Regions from separate parts of the Homo sapiens genome. Here all the other regions are linked to region 1. Evidence: promoter capture Hi-C in 16 types of primary human blood cells and fetal thymus (Javierre and others, 2016). All regions are on one chromosome and are shown on one strand. The core of a region is centred on a gene start or on the middle of the fragment in contact, and the rest is flanking DNA. Distances in the headings are between cores, read along the strand shown.

Region 1 (5,870 bases), core at 1,268-3,767:
AAAGACATTATTCTAAGACAACAGTTGGAGAAACTGATGGTAGAAATAATGAAAGTCCATAAAATTAAGAAAAGATGAACTGAGGCTTGTCCTGATAATTCTTGAAACACAAACTCTGACTGTGTCCTGAAAGTTTAGGGACACAGGTATGGAATATGTAAATGAACTGTCACATAATACACAGGCTAATAAACTTGCAGAACTCATTACTTTAAAAAAAAGGACCAAACATTGTTAAGTTTGAGAAAGTTTTAAATTAATCTAATCAAGATCCTGAATGGAGAACTTCGAAAAGAGAGATAACCCCAGGCTTACATTCATTCCCACAAAGTATCTCTCAGCAGTGGCTTCAGACAGAACGAGCCCACAGTTGTCTAGACGGACCACAATTCTCAGTATACTACTGTCTATGTCTTCTTACATAAAATTCTGCTCTATGTTTAACCCTTAAGGTCTGTATATGAAATATTAATTACTTTCATAAACCTTTAATTTGGTACTCTGACAAGATACCTAAAATACAAGTCAAAGGTTTTATAAACTTCAGCTTTAAAATAATGGAAGGAAAAAATCATTCCTGACTTAAATATCAAAGATGTATCCTAAATTGATACAGAAATAAAGATAATTCAAAAAAGCAAAGCCTCAAACCAAATAAAAAAGTGCTGTAATTTGTTACTCTAAAAAAAAAAAGGGGGGGGTGAAAGGGAAAAAATCACAACTTTTATAAAATGATTAATGTGATAAATGCTCTTCCCCAAGTAAGTTGTGATTCCTAACAACTCAAGTTCCTGAGTAACTGACATCTGTTACAGTGTCCTCCTGACACACATGAAATTGGACCCAGTAACTGAGAAGGTTAACTCCTGTACCAATAGGTACTGAAATGAACCTCTCTCAAAACAGGTTTGTTGTTGTTTTTTAAAAAAGGAATTTTACTTTCAGGGGTCCACAGGTTAAGTAGTTCTCATTCGGGAACCTATATGAGAGTACCCCCGAAACAAAAAGTACACCGCACACACCCACAGTACCAGGAAAAGGTTACAGATACAGATGGCCTCTGTGCGCACATATGCTCTGGCTTCCTCAATTTCCCTTTGCCAACTGCTGGCCAGAAAGGTGCGAGTATTCACTTTGGAGAAAAGACTCCTCCGACAGAAACCTGCATACTTGCATTACTCGTACAAAGAGCTAAAAAGTTACAAAATACAGGCCTCCCTAACACCTTCCCCCCTCCGTGAATAAAGCTAGACTCCCTCATTGATAGACTCCCAACACTACTGGAGAACATCAGCAAAACTCCAGGAGGAAGCGCCGGCATCCTCCCACTTTCTCCCCCTCAATTCCCTCTCCCGGGGCCACTCACACTTTTAGAAAAGAGCCGCGGCGCCGAGAAAGTGGGTTGGTTCCCTTCCTCCTTCGGACTGAAGCGGCAGCTGCGGAAGGCTCCGGCGCGGTACTGAGGAAGAAGCGGTGCTCGTGTCGCTAAACCAGGCGGCAACCCGGGTCTCTTCCGCGCTGCCAGGGGAGGGGAGGCGGCGGCCCCGCTTACCTCCTCTTTTCCTCTTCCTGGGTCTTTTCAGGCTGCGGCTTCTGCCCGTCCAGGGCCACTTCTCCCGGGACAGTCAGGTTTGGGAGACTCCGGATTTTGTTTTTGTAAAGTTTCCTCTGGGTGGAGGCTGCGGCCGGCCCCCCGGGTCCCCCCCGGCCCCGCCGCCCTCGGGACTGGGGCGGGGGAGGGGGGCTCTAGGAACTCCTCCCGGAGTCCAGCCAAGGAGCCGGGGGGCCGGCGACTGGCCAAGGGAGAAGACCCCCGGAGGGGGCTGAGGGGAGGGGGAAGGTGAGGAAAGGACGGCGGCGTCGGTCCTGTTCTCTCCGCCGCCCCAGCCGCCGCTTCACATCGGGGTCCCCGCCCCCCCGGCCGGGGGGTGGTTGCCGAGCTTGGTTGGGGCCCCGGTTCATACACTCCGGGGCAAGATGCTACGGCCCCGGGCGGGTGGCCGAGTCGGCGGCAAGGCGAGGGACCCGGCCGGCTCCGCTCGGCGCCGCCCCCGCTCCCGGCTCCCGCATGTGTCGCTGCGGCTGGGACCCCCCTCCCTACACCTTGGGGGTCTCGCCCCACGCCCCACGGGACGAGGCAGAAGCTCTGGCGCCTCCTCAGCGTTCTCTCACCGCGGAGCAGCTACCCACTCCCGGCCCGTGGTAGCCGCCTCCCTGCCCCCCAAGCCGCCGGCTCCGGCTCAGGCTCGGGCTCCGGCTCTGGCTCCGGCTCCGGCGTGTGCAGCCGCCGCTGCCGGCCGGGAAGGTGAGGGGGGGAAAGGAGTGCGGCCGCGGCTCCCGCTGGCCCAGGTGAGAGCGAAGGTCTCGGCGGCGGCCAGTGCAGGGGGACTGGATCTCTCGGATGCTCCTTCGCTCTCAGTCTCAGCGGCGGCGGCGGCGGCAGCGGCAGCGGCAGCGCCCGGAGCTCAGCTCGCTGTCTCCCTCGCTCTGTGCGGGGCTCTCGCCTCACTCCAGAGAGAGGGGCGGGAGGAGAGCGGCGCCTGCCGATGACGCAAGTCACCTAGCAACCGCTCTCTTCCCCCTCCCTCTTCTTTCCGCTCTGAGGCTTCCTCCGCTGGCCTTTTTCCCCCTTCCAGCCACCCCGCCCTGGGCGCCTCTGGCGCGCTCTGATGACGCTCCAAGGGAAGAGGAAGTGGGGATCGGCGAGCGGGTGGGTGCGCCTCGGGCCGCGGGACTCGCAGCCGCCACCGCCGCTGCCGCCTCTACGGCCGCGTCAGAACTGAAGAGAGGAAGGGGAGGAGCCGAGTCGAGCCTAAGCTGCCGCCCGATCTTACCCCTGACCCGAGGGCGGCCTGGAGAGCTTGGTCTGTAGCGGTTTCCTTCGGGGCAGGTGGGGACTGCTCCTTTGGGAGGAAGGAGGAGGCCCAGGCCGCGTCTTCAGGCAGCTGCGCGCACCACCCGAAGGTGAGGCATTTGGCCCCAAACAGACCCTCGAAAAGCCGGACTGATCGAGGAGTTACCCTACAGCCTGATCTGCACCTGCTCCAGGGAGAGAGCGCCCCACCCTTCCCGTGGCGTGGGGTGAGACCCAGCGTTGGATAACGTGTGGTCGGGCCGAGCAAATGTTTGATGAATGAATGAATGAATGAATGCCTCTCTCACGTGGCACTCGTGAAGCTCAGAGGATATGGTGGAAGTGCAAGCGCTTTGTAAACTGCAGTGCATTGTAAAAATGAGTTGTAATACATTCCTCCCCTCCCCCTAGCCATGAAAGGAAACAGGGGTGCGGCTTGAGTACAGAGTCACAACCTGAGTCTTTAGTGGAAAAGGAGACGAAATGCCGAGCAAGGGAAGGGACCCATCCTCGCGCAGATTGTTAGGGCGGCGGGAAGGGAGGATTGGAAGGGAGCCATCCTCTGGGAGATTGCTGAAGGATTTTTGACTGTCAGGGGAAGAATTTAATAGTCCCTCACTTTTACGAATGGTTCTTTCTTACGGTTTGGAGCTTTCGAGAGCTTCTGGTCTTGGTTCATCAGTGTACGTTGTCATCAAGAAATGTTGGCCTGTTTCAGGTCTGACTCAAAGGTTATTTTCTTTCTAAAATAAGTGTTATTACTATTATGCAGCTTTTCCTACAGATGTTATCCTGGAAAGGAAAGTTAAGTAGAAACTCATGAAGTTTAAAGTGTAGTTCTCTAGGAAAACAAATTTAAGATAAAAGGACCAGAATCCTCAGAAATCTGTCTTCAGTGAATAGTATGAGAAAAAGATTAAAGCAGCAGCAATGATGAAAGCAGATTCCACAATTCTGTCCCTGGACCCTAGTACACTCTACCTCCTTGGGAAGCAGTAGTAATGGATTTTACAAGTCTTTCCACCTGGAGGAGGGGGTAAGGTAGGAGCAAGTGTATTATAGACAAATGTGGGAAGCTCTGGGTTTCTCCCACTACTGCCACTACCATCTGCAAACAGTAAACTAAGGAAACTTTTAACTGGGTAAATCCAAGGGCTCGTGTTCATTAAAATGCTGCGGGAAAGGTGGTGAGAGGGGCAAAGGAGGATGTGGCAAAACCAAGGAGAGACTCACAGACTAGCACCTGACCCTACTGCCCTTGACCTGAAGTTCCAAGAGCCAGGTTAAATATCCTGCTTAAATTACCCTGGATTTTTCTGTCTTTACGTGACCAATCCCCTGCTACAGCCTTCCAAATAAGACTCACAGGTAATCAGACCAACAAGTGATGGTCTCACATGGCTACAAAATAAATATTTTTTGTTTTTCCCCCTCTTCCTATCTTACAACAGGGGAATGGTGGAAATTAAAGGAGTAAAACACACAGATTTAGGGGATTTTGTGAAGCTAAACACCTCAGAGAGTTTAACCTTTGTAGGCTTTGAAGGAAAAGAGTGCAAACATCAGAGTTCTGCAGCCCAGCAGAGAACACCTCCAGTTAAGTGTGTACCACATAGGGTTTTTCAGCAGCGTGATCTTCTGTTTTCATTGTCAGTGGCTCCACCTTACAACCTCAGTGCTGAGGAACAGAAGGGCACTCAGGAGAGCCTGAGCCACTTACTTAGAAAGTATTTAATAACAGCACACTAAGCTTACTGGGCTAGATACCCACCTCAGCACCCAGCTTGATAACAGGAGGAAACAGCTGGAACTGGAGACTGGAGAGAAGGAAGTTCATACATTTCCAACTTGGTCTGCATCTCTTTAGTTCCTTGTATTGCTTATTAATCCAGAGGAGAAAACAGCTAGTTAATTAAAAATTCCAAAAAATCTGAAGTTTTAGCTAATAGTTACTTCCCTGGTTCATCAATTTAAGATAAGGATCTAAATACTGTGTTAAAATATAGAAAAACGGAGACTCTTATAAGGTTTTTGACCTCTACACTTGAAAGTGAGCTCTTACAAGAAACTAATCAGTGTTTCGTTATTCCATATCAGTGGCTTTTACTGTCAAAGATTGTGTAAGCTAAATTATCTGGCAAAATTTTGCTTTCCAGAAATACTATCTATATTAATTTTAACATTTTTATTGTGAAATATAGTTTAAATACATAAAGCAATTATATAGTATAAGTGATTATAAAGGAAACCACCATGTAACCAATCAACCAGGTCAAGAAATGGAATATTTCCAGCAACTCAGAAGTTCCCCTCCCTGCCATGACCTTCCCGAACACAACTCTTTCCCTCCCTCCTAAGTGTAGTCATTATTCTAACATTTGTGATAATCATTTCCCTGCTTTTCTTTGTCGCTTTGTCGCAAGCATGCATCCCTAAACAATATATTGTTTAGTCTCACTCTTTCTTTTGAACTTTATGTAACTGGAACAATATAATATGTAATCTGTTGTTCTTGCTGCTTTTGCTCAACATTGTTTTTAATTCATATGTTGTTCAGGTTGTTCCTATAGCTGTAATTTGTGCATTTTCATTGCTGCATATTACAGTGTCCCATTATAACAATATGTGACAATATGTTTAGCCATTCTATTGCTGATGGACATCTGGGTTGTTTCCAGTTTAGGATTGTTATAAATGCTAATGTGAACATTCTTCATATATGTATTCCATCACATCTACGTCAGTTTCTGTATAACATATACCTGGGAGTGTAATATGTATCATAAACTTGAATAAATAATGCCAAGTTCTTTTCTAGAGGGTTACACAGTCACACTAGGTATATATGAGTCCCATTGCTCCACACCTTCACAACACTTGACATTATTGGTCTTTTTGGTTTTGCCAGTCTGGTGGGTGTATGGTAATATATCATTGTGGTTTTAACTGTCATTTCTCTGATTACTGATGCTGTTGAGGACCTTCTTGTATACAACTAGCTATTTGGATTTACATT
Region 2 (5,870 bases), core at 1,887-4,386, 1.5 Mb before region 1:
TTCTCTCTCCTTCTATCCAGGCACCTACTATCCTGCAAATACGCAGCTTTGAAGGACTTAACCAATGACCTTAAAATCTATACCAGGTCTACAGTTCTAGGAAGCGTATAAGCAAATGCTGCTATAGAATTTGGATTTTCTTTAATGATAAAAATGCAAATGACTCACGTTTGGTCATCCACTCCAACACAGCACATTCTAAAGAACAGGAGTTCAAATCCTCCTTCTGCCAAAAGATGTTGTGTCTTCACACACAAATAAGTAATTATGGATTATATTACTACCACAAATTTCTGTTTCTCACTGAAGGCATATGACATTTTAAAAAAGAACAAAAAATCAGAAAGGAAATGTTTCAAGTCTATTTTGAGGTAAAGCAATCAATTTACCATTTATCTTCCTCAGACTTACATATGAAAGCCCCACACACATGCGCACACACAAGATCCCCAAAATGTTGACAACTGTTGAAGCTGCACAACGGATACCAGAGTTCATTATACTATTCTATTTTTGCATATATTTGAACATTTCCATAATATGCAGTTTTTTAAAATATGCATGTGTGTGTCTATAGGTGTTTATACATAAACTCCCAATAAACTGACATAGAAATATCCAATTGTTCAAAGCTTTCATTCTTCAAAAGTAAGTGAATTTCTTTTTTTTTTTTTTTTTTTTGAAACAGTCTCTCACTCTGCCACCCAGGCTGGAGTGCATTGGCACGATCTCGGCTCACAGCAACCTCCACCTCCTGGGTACAAGCAAGCGCATCCAGCTAATTTTTTTGTATTTTTAGTAGAGATGGGGTTTCACCATGTTGACTAGGCCAGTCTCAAACTCCTAACCTCAAGTGATGTGCCCGCCTCGGCTTCCTGAGGTGCTGGGATTACAGGCGTGAGTCACCACGCCCGGCCAGAATTCCATCTAGCTACTTTCTTATTCTAGAAGTTGTACTGCAGGTGACCAGACCATTAGAGAAGGTCTAGTGAAAGAAATAATTAACTGCCCCAGAATAAAACAAGCCTAACCTTGAAAAGAGGCAAAGGGAAAGGTGCTAAACAGTTATTACAATTAACTGCATGTTTATATTTGGTCCTGTTATCCTCTAACACAGGTGGGTAGGTAGAAAAGGGGGAAGTATTTTAGGGCCAGATTTCCTTTTGATTCTTTAAGTTGATGGGCAAGAGAGGCTGGAATAAAGAAATCTAAAAAGTCTCCATTATAAATGATAACCAAGCCAGGCACAATGGCGCATGCCAGTAGTTCCAGCTACTTAGGAGACAAGAGGGGAGAATCGCCTGAACCCAGGAATTCAAAACTAGCCTAGGCAACAGAGTGAGACCTCATCTCTAAATAAATAAGTTAATGAATTAATTAAAGGTAGAATTGTATAATATATGAATTATACCTCAATTTAAAAACAATTTAAGCCCTATACAGTGATGCATGCCTATAGCCACAACTACTCATAAGACTGAAGCAGGAGGATAGCTTGAACTTAGGAGTTTGAGAACAGCCTGGGCAACATAGAGAGGCCTCATCCCCCTCCCACCCCCACCCGAAAAAAAGCATTCATAGCTCATCTTAGTATAATCAGCAACTTCCAATGACTAACTATGCTTTCCTGCTAGACATGAATTTATAAAACACATAAAAATTATACTGTATCTGCTTCAATTCCTTTTTTCATATTGCCATTCAATTTTCACAAGATTACTTTAAATGCAATCCTAAATTCATCACCAATTTAACTTTTGTTAGTTATGTCTAAAAATAAAACTAGTCAAAATTAAAAATACTAACTTTGCAGCAAATTAATCTTGCATCAGCACTACAAACAAATTTTTAAACTTATTGTAGCAAAACATAACTTCGACAGAATCAAAGACATTAATTCTCAAGTCCAAAAAAAGGTCACAAGAAATTATTTAAAGTGGTAAAGGGAAACGCAGACTTAGGCATACAAGCCAAGAAAAAAAAAATTAGAGATAACTCCTCCGCTAGAACCTCCCCCCAATACTTCCATAGCAACAATTATTTCCTTAGCACAAAAGTGATGTGTTCACTTTCACAAAACCTGGATCATCTAAGTTTGCACAATTCCCTTCAATCTAAAAAACAGATGAAATTGTTTCATTTAGGTGAGTAGAATTTTGTGTCCCTATACACGAAAAAAGTCACCATCAGTGTGAGTAAACCACATGGCTCCAGCTTTAAGATCTTGTTCCCCAACCCACTGAAAAGAGTATATGCTTATAAAATATTCATGGACTTACCAGGTTAAAGACAGTTTCTACAATATCCCTATTGGATACTTCTCCAACTTCAACCAAACCGGTCAACACGGCAAATTTCATTCTGATGCCCCTGATGGGGAGCCCTGGTTTCAGAGACAATGCACCCCCTTCAGTAGGGGTTTCTTCTCTCCCTCCACCTCCCCCGTCATCACCTGTTGGTGGCGGGGAAGGGACACGATTGTCTTCGCTAGCCATTGCTAGCTCACGATAAAGGACAACTCAGAGTCACCCTGGGACGGCAGTCGCTGCACTGGTAATGAGCACAACACACGCAATGCAAAACGAAAGGGTCCCTCTTCCAACTTGTGGAGATACCCCAAAGCAGTTGATGTGGAAAGTCCTTGGCGTCGCCCTCCTCCTCTTGGAGAATATTTGTCCAATCTCTCTCCCCGAGGCTGACAACAACGCCAAACCCTATTGGAAGATTAAATATATGTTAAATAGGCTAGGTTTTGTTTTAGGGTTTTGAGGGGACAAGAGGGAAATAGTTATTGTCGGTCAAGTAAGTTACTAAAGGCACCCCACTACTAGCCACCCGCTTCTCCCGGGCTCAAAAAGCTGGGTTCTGGGTGAAGGCAGGTCCAAGAGGCCCCCGAACAGGCTCACTCCTCCCCCACTCTCGTGCAGGTTCTAGGCGCAGGGTAACCTCTCCTCACAGGTGCACTAGAAAGAGAAACTGTCGCGGGGAAAGGAGGGATCGGAGGAAAGAAGGGGGGCCCACAAGCTATCACAGAGGTAGAAAGTTCTTCCTCACCCAGATACTCCGGACTCGTCCTCACCCCCCGCCCAGGAGCAGCGAGACCGAGGTGGCGGCGGAGATCCAGGGCAGGAAAAGGCGGGGGAAGGGGGCGGTGATTATTCTAAATGCTCGGCCCAGTGGGAGGAGTGAAGCACCTCTCTCAGGCACCTGAGATTCGACGGGAAGGGGTGGGGAGGTGTGTGTGGTGGCAGGAAGGGAGGGGAGCGGCCAGAGAAACCCAGCGGCCACCGCAGGGAGAGAAGGGAGGACAGAGAGGTCAGTGCACCTGGTCGCAGCCTCCAAGTTTCCCTAGTCCGCTCCCCGGGAGTCCGCGGCTGCACAGAACTCCATGGCTTCCTGGCCCGCCCCGCCCCTGCGCTCAGCCTTTGCAAAAGCAGCCGCTGCTGGCGCTACGGGCGCCGCGGCTGAGGCTGCTGCGAGTGGTGAGGATGCTACTGCCACAGCTCGCCCCGCCACGGGTCGCGCGGCTGTCGTGTGCCCACTGAAGCTGCTCCCGGCCGCCATGACAGCGCCGAGTGCTGCCGGGCGCGGCGTGCGCGTGCGCGAGCGCGAGTGCGCGGGGCGGGAGGGCGCGAAGGCGGAGGCAGCCGCGCGGCGGGGGCGCGGTGACGACGCGCGGACAGCCAAGGGGGCCCCGAGCCAGCCGGAGTGCTGGGCTGGGGCTTCCGGCTGCACTAGGCGCGCTGCTCTGGTAGCACCAGGTGTGTACCCGGCCCGGCGAGGAGAGACCCTTCCGTCCGAGGGCCTACACTTTCCCCTCTCCCACTCTCGGACCTCGGGAGGTGCTTCTGCCAAGTCCTGAGGCGGGGATTTTGGCGCTCCTGCTGTTGTTAAGTTACCGTAGGGTCTCTTGGCGCGGAGGGAACACGCGCTGCGTTGCCTAGGTGTCTCATTGGACTTGGAGAAGAACACCTGAGGCACCTCTACGAGCCAGAGAGGTGACGGCGCTGGAGCCAGTGAGGCTGCTGTCCCTGCCCAATGGGAGCGAGGAGTCCCCACCCCTGGCTGCTTTCAGCTGTTGCCCGCCCGCCGCTCTCGGCGGAGACTTGGAGATTTCCACTGGGATACCTCGGCAGCTGCCGCCATTCGGGAGGGGAGGGGAGGGGACCGAGTCGACGAGGAATGGGAAAGATTCCTTGCTTTGCAGCTGCCGCGCCACGAAACCTCTCCCACATTCATTCTAGGCAGAGGATTCCTGAGACAGCTGCTATAAACAGCGTGGAGACAGGGTTCCTTGTGCCTGTAGACCTCCGAAGGGTTTTTTCCTCTCGTGATTTTCCAATGTGAAGATTAGGCTCGCGTCATTCTCAGAGTAGATCAAAAGATAAATTATATTAGGTAGTACAGATAGGTCCTCATACTCAGTGTCCCTTCTTTCCACCCGCTATTAACAGTAAACCATTCTTCCTAGTGAGTGAAAAATAAATTTAGAGGAAGGTGGTTTTTCACCCACGTGTATCCTTTGAGGTCAAAGGGCCTTTTTAAAAATACGCCTAGCTCCTAAAATGAAAGTGAAGCAAAAAGTGGGATTAAACAAAGGAAGAATTCTAGAGAACTTAGGAAAAAATTATAGTGGTTTGAGAAATAGTTTCCTGAAGAAAAAGTTATTTGAGATGGCCTTGAGAAGTGGACAGAAGCCGGGCGCGGTGGCTCACGCCTGTAATCCCAGCACTTTGGGAGGCCCAAGCAGATGGATTGCCTGAGGTCAGGAGTTCAAGACCAGCCTGACCAATATGGTGAAACCCCCGTCTCTACTAAAAATACAAAAATTAGCCAGGCATGGTGGTAGGCGCCTGTAATCCCAGCTACTCGGGAGGCTGAGGCAGGAGAATTGCCACTGCACTCCAGCCTGGGTGACAGAGGAAGAGCGAGATTCTGTCTCAAAAAAAAAAAAAAAAAAAGACAATTTTAACTCTCACATGGAAATTTGGGAAGAAAAAGGTAACAGACGCAAAAAGCAAGGGAGGGCTGGGTGTAGTAGCTCACACCTGTCATCCCAACACTTTAGGAGGCTAGTGCAGGAGGATCACTTGAGACTAGCCTAGGCAACAGCAAGACCCGTGCTCTTTTTTTTTTTTTTTTTTTAAACGGAGTTTCGCTCTTGTTGCCCAGGCTGGAGTGCAATGGCGCAATCTCGGCTCACCTTAACCTCTGCCTCCCGGGCTCCAGCGATTCTCCTGCCTCAGCCTCCCAAGTAGCTGGGATTACAGGCATGCGCTAATTTTTTTTATTTTTATTACAAGCCCGCCTAATTTTTGTATTTTTGGTAGAGGTGGGGTTTCACCATGTTGGCCAGGCTGGTCTCAAACTCCTGACCTTAGGTGATCTGCCCGTCTCAGCCTCCCGAAGTGCTGAGATTACAGGTGTGAGCCACCGTACCCGACCAAGGTCTCTATTTTTTTAAAAAAGAAGCAGAAGAACAAGCAAGGGGATATTTTCTTTAGAAAAGTGTTACACGTTTTAAAAATACTAAAATGAATTCAACTGCACCAAATCTCATGTGGTTGCAAATGTTTGTTAAAGATTTGTTTTCTGTAAGTAGACTTAGATATTCCAGAGATGAAGCAGACATCTTTCTGATGATCCGAATTGCCAACACATTTCCAAAGTAAAAGGCGACATCAGTGGCTTCCCATTTCTGAAATCTCTGAAAAACTAAACACCTCAAGTTTGTTTCACATCATTAATGAATAACTCTGGAATAAGGGGGAGTAGGGTGTGCCTGCAGAAGAGACACAACTTTCACTTGACCTTTCACACATCCGTATTTCTAAAGTGAGGCATTAATCCTAAAAGGCCTCTCATCGGAG
Region 3 (5,870 bases), core at 1,255-3,754, 1.4 Mb before region 1:
ATGGGTAGGAGAAAAATGGGTCATGAGATGTCTCCCCATTAAGGACAGAGGTCGCTTTCTGGCCCATCAATTGTCTAATTATTGCAGCGACACCAGAGATTAACAGATCAGTTTAAACTCTGTACAGGTCTTAATGAATAAAATACCCTGGCCCTAGAATACCTCATGGCTGCCTAAAATCAGACCTACTGGTACTCCCTGAGATTATTCACAGTAAGCTGTCTGGGACCCTGGAGAGTAAGACTGAGATCAATACTGCAGGTTGGCTTCATCTGCTGCTTTGAGTCTTGATAATAGACTTAATTAAACGTCATGTGAGACAAACTGAGTGGATTTGGTTCTGGCTTCTGTTGGTTAGCTTAATCGAAGTGGTTGTCAGAGTAGCACACTTGTGTAAAAATTTAAGTTTGGCCAAGAATGTGTCAGGCTGAGGAGTGAATAGTGACAGAGGCAATGTGCTGTATACCCTAAGTGTCTCTGCACATTCTTGCTGAGTATGCCAAGAATACAATCCCTTGACTGTTCTTTACCCTGGCCACTTCTCAGGGCTGTGTTTGCACCCTTGTGAGCAACCTTGAAGGATGAGGTAACGTCTCCCCCAGGAAAAAAAGCAAGCTTGCTTCCATTTGCTATAAAAGTGGTGGATCTCAGTGTTCCTCTCCTGTCACACAACTCACTGTATAATGGGCCCTTTGCATCACCTCCTCGGGATTTGGTGGGGTATGGGAAACTGACACATAAGAACACGAAACTCTGGTTCTCACTTTTGCTATCATGAAGTGTTTTGCTCCTGTCCCAGAAGTCTCATGTCTTCTGCTAACATCCATGAAACCATGCCAGGCTAAATGTTTAGCTTACAAGTTGGGTAAAATGTCAAACACTGCACAGTTCCTGACAATTTCTCCTCCTCAATTATTTGAAGCAAATTTAACTTATCAAATGTAAATATTTCATCATGTATCTCTGAAATGATTTCTTAAAAAGAAATGTAACCAAAATCCTATTAACACAGCTCCAAATTTCAGTAATAATCTTTAGTATCTTTAAATATCCAGTCATACCAATTTAATGAGTCATTAATTCTCTGACGTAACGCTGTGATAGGCAATGCAAGTGTGACAGCTATGAAGGGTAATGAGTTTCCATTTGCTAAGATCATTTAAGAAGTCAAAGTAGGGCTGGGTGCGGTGGCTCACACCTGTAATCCCAGTACTTTGGGAGGGTGAGGCGGGTGGATCACCTGAGGACAGGAGTTCAAGACCAGCCTGGCCAAAGTGGCGAAACTCCATGTCTACTAAAAATACAAAAAATTGGCTGGGCACGGTGGCTCATGCCTATAATCCCAGCACTTTGGGAGGCCAAGGCGGGTGGATCACCTGAGGTCATGAGTTTGAGACCAGCCTGACCAACATGGTGAAATCCTGTCTTTACTAAAAATATAAAAATTAGCTGGGCATGGTGGTGGGCACCTGTAATCCCAGCTACTTGGGAGGCTGAGGCAGGAGAATTGCTTCAACCCAGGAGGCAGAGGTTGCGGTGAGCCAAAATCACACCATTGCACTCCAGCCTGGGTTGACGAGCGAAACTCCATCTCAAAAATAAAAATACAGATACAAAAAACTAGCAAAGCGTGGTGGCGGGCACCTCTAATCCTAGCTACTTCGGAGGCTGAGGCACGAGAATTGCTGGAACCTGGGGGCAGAGGTTGCAGTGAGCCAAGATCGCACCATTGGACTCCAGCCTGGGCAGCAAGGGCAAAACTACGTCTCAGAAAAAAAAAAAAAAAAAGAAGTCAAGGCAGAAAAATTATTGCAGGTGTCAGCTCCTAGAAGTGTATAACATCCATCCCGGCCCTATTATTATTTTTTTGATACATATATGTATATACACGTATATATGTGTATGTATATATATGTGTATATGTGCATGTATATGTAAGTATATATGTGTATATTACCACATATACATTTGTGTATACGTATATGTATATATGTATGTGTATATGTATATACATACACGCATACATACGTATGTGTATATGTATGTATATATTTAAAGTGTGTGTATGTGTATACACATATGTGTATATGTATATATGTGCATACATATGTATAAATGCATGCATGTATACATGTATACGTATATATACATATACACATACGTATGTATACATATGTATGTATACACTGCATATACATACATATGTATGTATACACTATGCATATACATACATATGTATATATACACATGTATGTATATACTATGCATACACATACATATGTATATATACACACGTGTACACACATATACATATGCGTATACATTCATACACACATACATGTATACACACATACATATACACATACACATATATACATATATGTATATATACACACACACACATTTTTTTTTTGAGATGGTGTCACTCTCTGTTGCCCAGACTGCAGTGCAGTGGCATAATCTCAGCTCACTGCAACCTCCATTTCCCAGGTTTGCGCAATTCTCCTGCCTCACCCAGTAGCTGGGATTACAGGCCCACGCCACCATAGCCTGGCTAATTTTTGTATTTTTAGTAGAGACAGGGTTTCACCATGTTGGCCAGGCTGGTTTTGAACTCCTGACCTCAGGTTATCCACCCGCCTTGGCCTCCCAAAGTGCTGAGATTACAGGCGTGAGTCATAGTGCTCAGCCAGAGGCCAATATTTTGGTATTGTTAGTTAATTTTTGTGAAACATAGACAACCAAATATTTCATTTAATTATTGCCTAATTTACAGTACTTGAAGATAAATAATCCATGGTATACATATAATTAGAATTCCTTTAAAAAAATCAGAATATGTCTCAGACTCTGAAATATAAATCTATCAGCTTAACAGTGCTTTGGTTAATCTATTATACTCCAAAATACTAATAACAGTGTTTTGTGTTATATTTTAATGAAAATCTAGATTTATGATTGCTCTACTGTTGCCAAGGGCACAGCCCTACAAGATACAGCTGTACAAGATCTGATGTTCTAAATTTTTGAATATTTTCTATTAAAGAGAAAAAGGAATCCACATTAGTGGATCCATTCATGTTTCAGTTTCTAGGTAACATCAATATAAATTGTCCACATAAAACCAAGAAGCTGACAGGACTTTTCTTCCTGAAGGATAAAACTTCAAGGCTTTAATACATACTGTGTAATTCTTTCTAATCGTTAAGTATTAGAGGCTACAACCACTACAGGCCAATGAAACGGATCAATTCTTCTTGTTTAACTGCTAAAAAAAATGTTATCACTTTGCCATAATAAACGGAAAAAGAACTGGATTGGAAATCCGCAGAGATAGGTTTTACTTTAGGCTCTGCAAGTAACTGTGACTTTAGGCAAATCATTTAACCTCTGCAAGTTGAACTCTGGTCTCCAAGGGCTCTCTTCTGTGGTATAACAGGATGAGCTCGCAATTAAGAGAGCGGCCCCTAGATGGTAGTGTTGTTCTGAGTCAGGCTTTCTATTTTTTTTCCTTCTTTAATTACAGTGAAGTAAAAAGGCACAAGTTAGAAAATGACTTCACGTTAGTTCTGAAAAAAATTCAGTTGGCTGGACAAGGTGGCTCACGCCTGCAAACCCAGCACTTTGAGAGGCCGAGGCGAGAAGACTGCTTGAGCTCAGGAGTTCAACACCAGCCTGGGTAACATGGTGAAACCCCGTCTTTACAAAAAATAAAAAATTAGGCTGGATGCCGGGGCTCACGCCTGTAATCCCAGCACTTTCAGAGGCCGAGGCGGATGGATCACTTGAGGTCAGGAGTTCAAGACCTGTCTGGCCAACATGATGAAACCTGGTCCCTACTAAAAATACAAAAAAATTAGCGGGGCACAGTGGTGCGTGCCCGTAATCCTAGCTACTCAGGAGGCTGAGGCAGGGGAATCACTTGAACCTGAGAGGCAGAGGCTGCAGTGAGCCCAGATTGTGCCATTGCACTCCAGCCTGGGCAACAGAGCAAGACTCCACCTCAAAAAATAAAATGAAAAAAATAATAAATTAGCCAAATATGGTGGCACATGCCTGTAGTCCCAGTTACTCGGGAGGCTGAGGTGGGAGGAACACTTGAGGCCAAGAGTCTAAGGCTGCAGTGAGCCAAGATCATGCCATTGCACTCCAACCTGGGCAACAAAGTGAGACCCTGTCTCTAAAATACAATACAATAAAATAAAATAATAAATTCACTGTGAAGAATTCATTCAATGGCATTCAAAATGACATTGAATCATGAATCATATGGCTCATGTGCATTTGACATTAATTAAAAGAAATAAACCATTAATGATTATACCAAAGTGAATATATCGCCTTATAATTATTAGTCCATACAGTCATCATTATTTTCTCTAGGTATATTTAGGTAAGCTTAAGAAACTGAGTAAAAACTAAGAAATGAATGTTAGGAGTATTGATCTACAATCTTATAGAAAAATTTTTTTTTCAAATGCAAGTTCTACTAATAAATTCTGATAAACGCACTTTCTTTCATTTTGAATATTACAGACTGAATTCAAGACCTGTGATTTATATGAGCACAATGACAGATATATTCCATTACCCTTCTAGCCATGTAAACAAGGGCATCTTTTAAAGAAAAACGCTTTTAGTGTTCAAAGGATAAGAATAATATATTAAATGGCTTCTCTAGGTTTTTTTTCAACTGAGTCGCCTTGCTTGGAAAGGCTTCTCTAGGTTTTTTTTTGTTTTTGAGACGGAGTCTCACTCTGTCGCTTAGGCTGGAGTGCAGTGGCGCGATCTCGGTTCACTGCAAGCTCCGCCTCCTGGCTTCACACCATTCTCCTGCCTCAGCCTCCCGAGTAGCTGGGACTACAGGTGCCCGCCACCACGCCCGGCTAATTTTTTGTATTTTTAGTAGAGACAGGGTTTCACCGTGTCAGCCAGGATGGTCTCGATCTCCTGACCTCGTGATCCGCCTGCCTCGGCCTCCCAAAGTGCTGGGATTACAGTCGTGAGCCACCGCGCCCAGCCCTCTAGGTTTAATTTATCAAAGAAAAAGGATTAAGAGATTCTAGTTTGAGGAGGTTTAGATGAACAAGATCAGATTTTAACCTAAAATTCCTGAAAGGAAACAGAATGTGTTCCTATTTCTCTCCCATAAAATTCACTGAGTATAAAAATTATGTTTCTCCTTAAACATGCTCAGTCTTGCCTTGAATTCAATCAATATACAGAATAAGAAAGTACCTATGAGGCCGGGCTCGGTGGCTCACGCCTGTAATCCCAGCACTTTGGGAGGCCGAGGTGGGTGGATCACGAGGTCAAAAGATCGAGACCATCCTGGCTAACACGATGAAGTCCCGTCTCTACTAAAAATACAAAAAATTAGCCGGGCGTGGTGGTGGGCGCTTGTAGTCCCAGCTACTCAGGAGGCTGCGGCAGGAGAATGGCGTGAACCCTGGAGGTGGAGCTTGCAGTGAGCCAAGATCGTGCCTCCGCACTCCAGCCTGGGCGATAGAGGGAGACTCCATCTCAAAAAAAAAAAAAAAAAAAAGAAAGTATCTACGAGAGCCCATATGTTACCTTTTTGCTTCCTGTCAGTTGAGTAGGTAATAAGTGGCAAGCACAACATAGAACATGAGAGTGAAATGACATAAAACTGTGAATTTTTAGTATAGATTTATGTCAAAAATTAAAGAGGAAAGATATTGAGTGAATCCAAGATGGTATTGCTGTATGTGAAAGTCATTCATCCATCCATCCATCCATTCCAACCAACCAACTCACCCAACCCACCAACCAACCTTTATTGAGGCTGAATGGTGCAAAGGACTAGAGATACAAAGATAAATAAGGTACCACAGGCCAGGTGCAGTAAT
Region 4 (5,870 bases), core at 2,460-4,959, 1.1 Mb before region 1:
ACAACACAATGATCCCCACTGATATGGTTTGGCTCTGTGTCCCCATCCAAATCTCTTCTCAAATTGTAATCCCCATGTATCAAGGGAGGGACCTGGTGGGAGGTGACTGGATCACGGGGGCGGTTTCACCCATGCTGTTTTCCTGGTAGTGAGTGAGTTCTCACATTATCTGATGCTCACACTCTCATTCTCCTGCTGCCTCGTGAAGAAGGTGCTTGCTTCCCCTTCGCCTTCTACCATGATTGTAAGTTTTCTGAGGCTTCCTCAGCCATGTGGAACTGTAAGTCAATTAAACCCCTTTCCTTTATACATCACTCAGTCTCAGGTAGTATCTTTATAGCAGTGTGAGAACGGACTAATACACCCACTATGACCACTACCTTGCAAAACAGTACTTGATGTCTTGGCCATTGAAAACAGACAAAAATAAATGTAACATACAGCTCTGTCAAGAGTTCTGCTACAAACTGCAGAAAACATATGCAGCTGATTTAAAAGAAAATAACTTATTATAATATTAAGTAGCTTATTGAATCTATAAAGTTGTCCACAGAGGTTATGTAAACTTGACAGCTATATAACTAGGAACAACACCCAAATCATATTATAGATCTACTCCAATGGACATGCCATTATTACCACTATTTGGCAAAAATGCTGCAGCATGTACTGCCAACTCCACCAGACTGAGCACTGGGTACTATTGTGGGAATCTCTGCCACTACCCTCTCTGCTAACATATTTTTATTAATTGTACTTGTTAGAAAAAAGAATTTCTTGGCCAGGCACAGTGGCTCATGCCTGTAATCCCAGCACTTTGGGAGGCCGAGGTGGGCGGATCACAAGGTCAGGAGATCGAGACCATCCTGGCTAACACGGTGAAACCCCATCTCTACTAAAAATACACAAAATTAGCTGGGTGTGGTGGTGGGAGCCTGTAGTCCCAGCTACTTGGGAGGCTGAGGCAGGAGAATGGCGTGAACCCAGGAGGTAGAGCTTGCAGTGAGCCGAGATCGTGCCACTGCACTCCAGCCTGGGTGACAGAGCGAGATTCCATCTCAAAAAAAAAAAAAGAAAAAAGAATTTCTTGACAGCATGATTACTATTATAACAGAATACACATTGTTCATTTTTGAGCTCTTTTTTTAAGAGAAGCAACTACAGAAGATAATTTAAATTTAGATTTAATCTGACTACAGATGATAATGTCTTCATGTACTTTTTACTTTCAATTCCAAGGTATCTGGGACAACTTCCCTATGTTGCATTTTAGCTTCTGCTTTTCTTAAACACAGATGATGCACTTTGTCCACTTCCTCATAGGAGTGTTAAGATCTATAGTCCTATGAGCTCTGTGAAAGAAGAATTTGTGTATGTATGTGTGTGTGTGTGAATGATGAAATACTTCTCTCCTTTGTTCATGTAATCTTGAATATCTAGTATTTAACACGTTTAATAATTTGAAAAAAATGTAATTTCAAATATAATTACATTTTAAAATGGAAATAAAGGTGGTAAGAAAAAGAGGGAGAAGTCTTGACTGGCTTCTACAATAAAGAAATATAATTTCAGTGCTTTAAAGTACTATAATAACAGAGCTGAAGAGTATAAAAAATGAATAAAGAGGGGCCAGGCATGGTGGCTCATGCCTGTAATCCCAGCGCTTTGGGAGGCCGAGGCAGGCCGATCACAAGGTCAGGAGTTTAAGACCAGCCTGGTCAACATGGTGAAGCCCCATCTCTACTAAAAATACAACAATTAGCTGGGCATGATGGTGGGCGCCTGCAATCCCAGCTACTCGGGATTGCAATTTCAAGGCAGGAGAATCACTTGAAACTGGAAGGCGGAGGTTGCAGTGAGCCGAGATTGCACCACTGCACTCTAGCCTGGACCAAAGAGTGAAACTCCGTCTCAAACAAAACAAAACAAAACAAAAAGAATAAAATGAAATACATTAATAAAAAACATGATTTAGAAACGGCTACTGTTACTAATATATGCATTTACAGCCAATATACTTATTTTTAACTTTTGCTTAATTAACTTCTAAAGCAGTAGGTTCAAATTAATTGCTGTTTAACTGGATGATGCTGTTAAAAAACGCACTGCTCCATATTGGAATTCTTATATGTTGTCAGTGGGAGCATAAATTGGTATAATCACTTTGGAAAATTGTTTGGCAGTATCAACTAAATCTCATTGTATATACAGCCTATCATCCAGCAATTCCACTCCTGAGAGAAAGTGATACCTTCCTATGGCAGAAAACTTGGAAGTAGAGAAAAGCACAGAGAATAAAAATAAACTGTCATCCTAGTACTGAGATAATCATTATTATTATTATGATTTTTTTGAGATGGAGTTTCACTCTTGTTGCCTAGGCTGAAGTGCAATGGTGCAATCTTGGCTCACTGCAACCTCCGCCTCCCAGGTTCAAGTGATTCTCTTGCTTCAGACTCACGAGTGGCTGGGATTACAGGCGCCTGCCAACACGCCCAGCTAATTGTTGTATTTTTAGTAGAGACGGGGTTTCACCTTGTTGGTCAGGCTGGTCTCGAACTCCTGACCTCAGGTGATCCACCTGCCTCGGCCTCCCAAAGTTCTGGGATTACAGGCATAAGCTACCATGCCTGGCTGAGATAATCATTATTAATATTTGTAAAGAGAATCTTACTTTACACACTTACTTTTATAGTAGACTTACTTTATACAATATTATAAATATATTTCCATGTAATAGATATTTTCCAACTTTTTTTTTTTTTAAGAAGAGACAGGGTCTCACTCTGTTGCCCAGGTGGGCGTGCAGTGGCACTCAAAGCTCACTGCAACCTCGACCTCCTGGGCTCAATTGATCCTTCTGCCTCAGCCTCCTAAGCAGTTGGGACTATAGGCCCGTACCACCACATCTGCTTATCCTTTATTTTTATTTATCTATTTTAATTTATAAAGAAAAGAGTTTTAATTGGCTTACAGTTCTGCAAGCTGTACAAGCATGGCTCCAGCATCTGCTTCTGGGTGAGGGCCTCGGGAAGCTTCCACATGAGCTACCATGCCTGTCTTCATGGTGGAAGACAAAGAGAGAGCAGACAGTGTCATATGGCAAGAATGGGAGAAGGAGACAGCCCCTTTACCTTTAGCAAGACTTATTTCCTCAAAAGAATGAGTCTGTTTCACTCCCAGAGGGCATAATGGATATGAATGAAATTCATATTTGTAGAGAGGGAACTAACATTCTTAAGTGTCTATCATGTATTAGGCATTGTGTTATACACTTCACTATGCTAATTTGTCATCCTAAAACAACCTTAACAAAGTAGGTATTACTTTCATTTTATAAGTTGAAGAAACTGAAGACCATTCAAATTATGCGCCTCTCCTTTCCTGCCTTGATTTTACCCTAACCTCCTTTTGAAGTCTTCTCCAACTTTGTTATAGCAGTTCCGTCCTTACGCTGCCCACATTCAAATTATGCGCCTCTCCTTCCTGCCTTGATTTTACCCTAACCTCCTTTTGAAGTCTTCTCCAACTTTGTTATAGCAGTTCCATCCTTATGCTGCCCAGGCCAAAAGCCTCAGAGTCCTTCTCATCTCCTTCCTTTATACCCCACATCCAATGTGAGGAAACCATCAGCTTATCATCTCTACCACTATTTCTCTGGTCCACATCTCTATCTTCTTGTCCCTCAATTATTATTATTATCTTTTTGTGAGATGGAGTCTCGCTCTGTCGCCCAGGCTGGAGTGCAGTGGTGCAATCTCGGCTCACTGCAACCTCTACTCACTGCAACCTCCGCCTCCTGAGTTCAAGTGATTCTCCTGCCTTAGCCTCCTGAGTAGCTGGGACTACAGGTGCGTGCCACCACACCTGGCTAATTTTTTGTATTTTTAGTAGAGGCGGGGTTTCACCATGTTGGCCAGGATGGTCTTGATCTCCTGACCTTGTGACCCACCCACCTTGGCCTCCCAAAGTGCTGGAATTACAGGCATGAGCCACCGCACCCGGCTGACCCTAGATTATTTTAGTAGCCTCTTAACCAGTCTCTGTGCTTCTACCCTTACACCCTACTGTTTATTCTTAACCCAGCAGTCAAAGTGATCCAATTACAATGTCAGAAAGTGTCACTTTTCTACACAAAATCCTCCAATGGCTCCAACCAACTCACTCAGAGTAAAAGCCTTACCTGATCTGCATCACCCCCACCTTTCACTTCTTTGACTTCATCTTCTCCATTCTTTCATGGTGCCTTCTGGATTGCTCCTAGTACACTTAGGCATACTCCTGCCTCAGGGCCTTTACATTTGCTATGCTTTCTGCCTGGGAAGTTGTCTGCTCAGATATCCCTAACCTCCCTCAAGTCGTTCCTCAAATGTTACCTCCTCCAGAAGCTTTCCTTGATCATCACCCCTCTCCGAACATAGCACCCCTCATACTTTCTATGTACCCTCTCTGCTTAATTTTTATCCACAGCATTTCTTTCTTTCTTTCAAAACAGGGTCTCACTCTGTCACCCAGGCTGGAATGCAGTGGGCTCAAGTGATCCTCCCACCTCAGCCTCCTGGATAGCTAGGACTACAGGTGCACGCCACCATGCCTGGCTAATTTTTAAACTTTTTGTAGATAGGGGGTCTTACTATGTTGCCCAGGTTGGGTCTCCAACTTCTGGCCTCAAGTGATCCTCCTCCTTTGGCCTCCCAAACTGCGGGATTACAGGCATGAGACAGCACTCCTAGCCTCTCCATAGCATTTCTAATCATACAGCAGTCCATATATTGTCCTTATACATTTACCATCTGTCTTTCCCACGTGGAAGAGGTAAGCTCCACGAGGGCTGGAATTGTTGTTTGTGCTCTCTGCTGTGTCCTCAACCCCTAGAAGCGTGCCTAGCATGCAAAAGGCACTCAGTATATATTTGTTGAGTAAATGAATGCTTCCCCCACCTTCCAACTGTTAGAGCAGGCCAAGGGGACCTGTTGTGCAGAACTTCACAGCTTTCTACTCTGAGCTCTATCTTCCTTGTTCTTCCCCAGCTTTTACTTAGGAGCCACTTCTTGACTGAGCTTGTCACAGGTGAAAGGCTGATGAATCTGGAGAGATACTTGTGGCAAGTACCCGGTGTTCCTGCAGTCATCCACAAGCGCAGCAGTGGTGGTAGACAGCTAGAGAAGAAAGTGTAAAGTTTGCATCCTCCAATTATCACGGTTGCAAGACAGAACTTGAAACTAGATACACCTGATTTTGGTTATCTCTGGATGCCATTCACCGAGAATGAAGGGAAGAAGATACTTCCTCCAAAGGAGAATCTGATGAGGCGCCAGCAGGCTGCTGCTGCGGTGGAAACTGCCACATCCGCTTTTGCAAACTGGTGTGGCCCCAGCTGCTTGGACTGAGGCTCAACGCAGGTTTCAGCCACTTCAACCACAGGGCTACGAACATGCCAAGAGAGCCACTAACCAAGTTTCTCATTCCTCCTCTGAGATTTAAAGTCCATCACTTCGCGACTCAAACACGCAAGAGGCGTGGGAGACGGAGGAATGGGGAAGCGAGGCGGCGCTGCCCACCTTGGCAATGGCACAGCCGCGGTCTCTGATGCAAAGGCAGGCGGCCGCGCAGGGCCGGGCCTGGGTGGGAAGGCTGGGCTCTGGGAAGGATGTCGGGGCACCCGGCAGTGCCCAAAGCCACCATCTCAAGCGTGATAGTGGGAAAATGGATGCTGCACCTGCTCTCTCATCTTGCGGGGAATCGTGATTTGGGGAAGTTTCACCTTTGTTGCAGAACTGCCCACATTAGAGCCTTCATTTCTTGGGAAGGGGTTGGCGGGAGTTGCCAGTGAAATGTGTGACACACACACGCGCCACATACTCCCCAAA

The links. Contacts are between HindIII fragments. The CHiCAGO score rates a contact against its expected background, and 5 or more counts as called.
Region 2: the fragment with the promoter of LRBA here is called in contact with the fragment with the promoter of FBXW7 in region 1 in 1 of 17 cell types (non-activated CD4 T cells); the score reaches 6.5 in non-activated CD4 T cells.
Region 3: a fragment that was not itself captured here is called in contact with the fragment with the promoter of FBXW7 in region 1 in 1 of 17 cell types (total CD8 T cells); the score reaches 5.7 in total CD8 T cells.
Region 4: a fragment that was not itself captured here is called in contact with the fragment with the promoter of FBXW7 in region 1 in 1 of 17 cell types (fetal thymus); the score reaches 5.4 in fetal thymus.

Annotation. Positions count from the first base shown.
Region 1 is chr4:152,533,575-152,539,444 of GRCh38, forward strand. It overlaps FBXW7 (F-box and WD repeat domain containing 7), which reads right to left and starts at 2,518. Exons shown (of 14, transcript NM_001349798.2): 1 at 1,553-2,518; 2 at 1,367-1,459. MIR4453HG (MIR4453 host gene) reads left to right here and starts at 2,690. Exons shown (of 1, transcript NR_033797.2): 1 at 2,690-5,689. MIR4453 (microRNA 4453) reads left to right here and starts at 2,854; the gene lies at 2,854-2,942. RefSeq lists enhancers at 864-963, 2,213-2,748, 2,454-2,813 and a silencer at 1,554-2,343. The HindIII fragment of the contact is 7,748 bases long and covers 1-4,602 here.
Region 2 is chr4:151,012,148-151,018,017 of GRCh38, forward strand. LRBA (LPS responsive beige-like anchor protein) reads right to left here and starts at 3,137. Exons shown (of 57, transcript NM_001364905.1): 1 at 3,055-3,137; 2 at 2,280-2,714. The coding sequence starts at 2,495. RefSeq lists enhancers at 2,567-2,746, 2,927-3,056, 3,408-4,005 and a silencer at 3,557-3,706. The HindIII fragment of the contact is 17,217 bases long and covers 631-5,870 here.
Region 3 is chr4:151,114,087-151,119,956 of GRCh38, forward strand. No RefSeq gene overlaps it. Among named protein-coding and RNA genes, the nearest start is that of SH3D19-AS1, 7.2 kb to the right of the region's middle. The HindIII fragment of the contact is 3,783 bases long and covers 614-4,396 here.
Region 4 is chr4:151,402,549-151,408,418 of GRCh38, forward strand. It overlaps FHIP1A-DT (FHIP1A divergent transcript), which reads right to left. Exons shown (of 3, transcript NR_183963.1): 1 at 4,635-5,870; 2 at 2,975-3,060. Among named protein-coding and RNA genes, the nearest start is that of FHIP1A-DT, 3.4 kb to the right of the region's middle. RefSeq lists enhancers at 5,058-5,367, 5,199-5,870 and a silencer at 5,825-5,870. The HindIII fragment of the contact is 1,353 bases long and covers 3,034-4,386 here.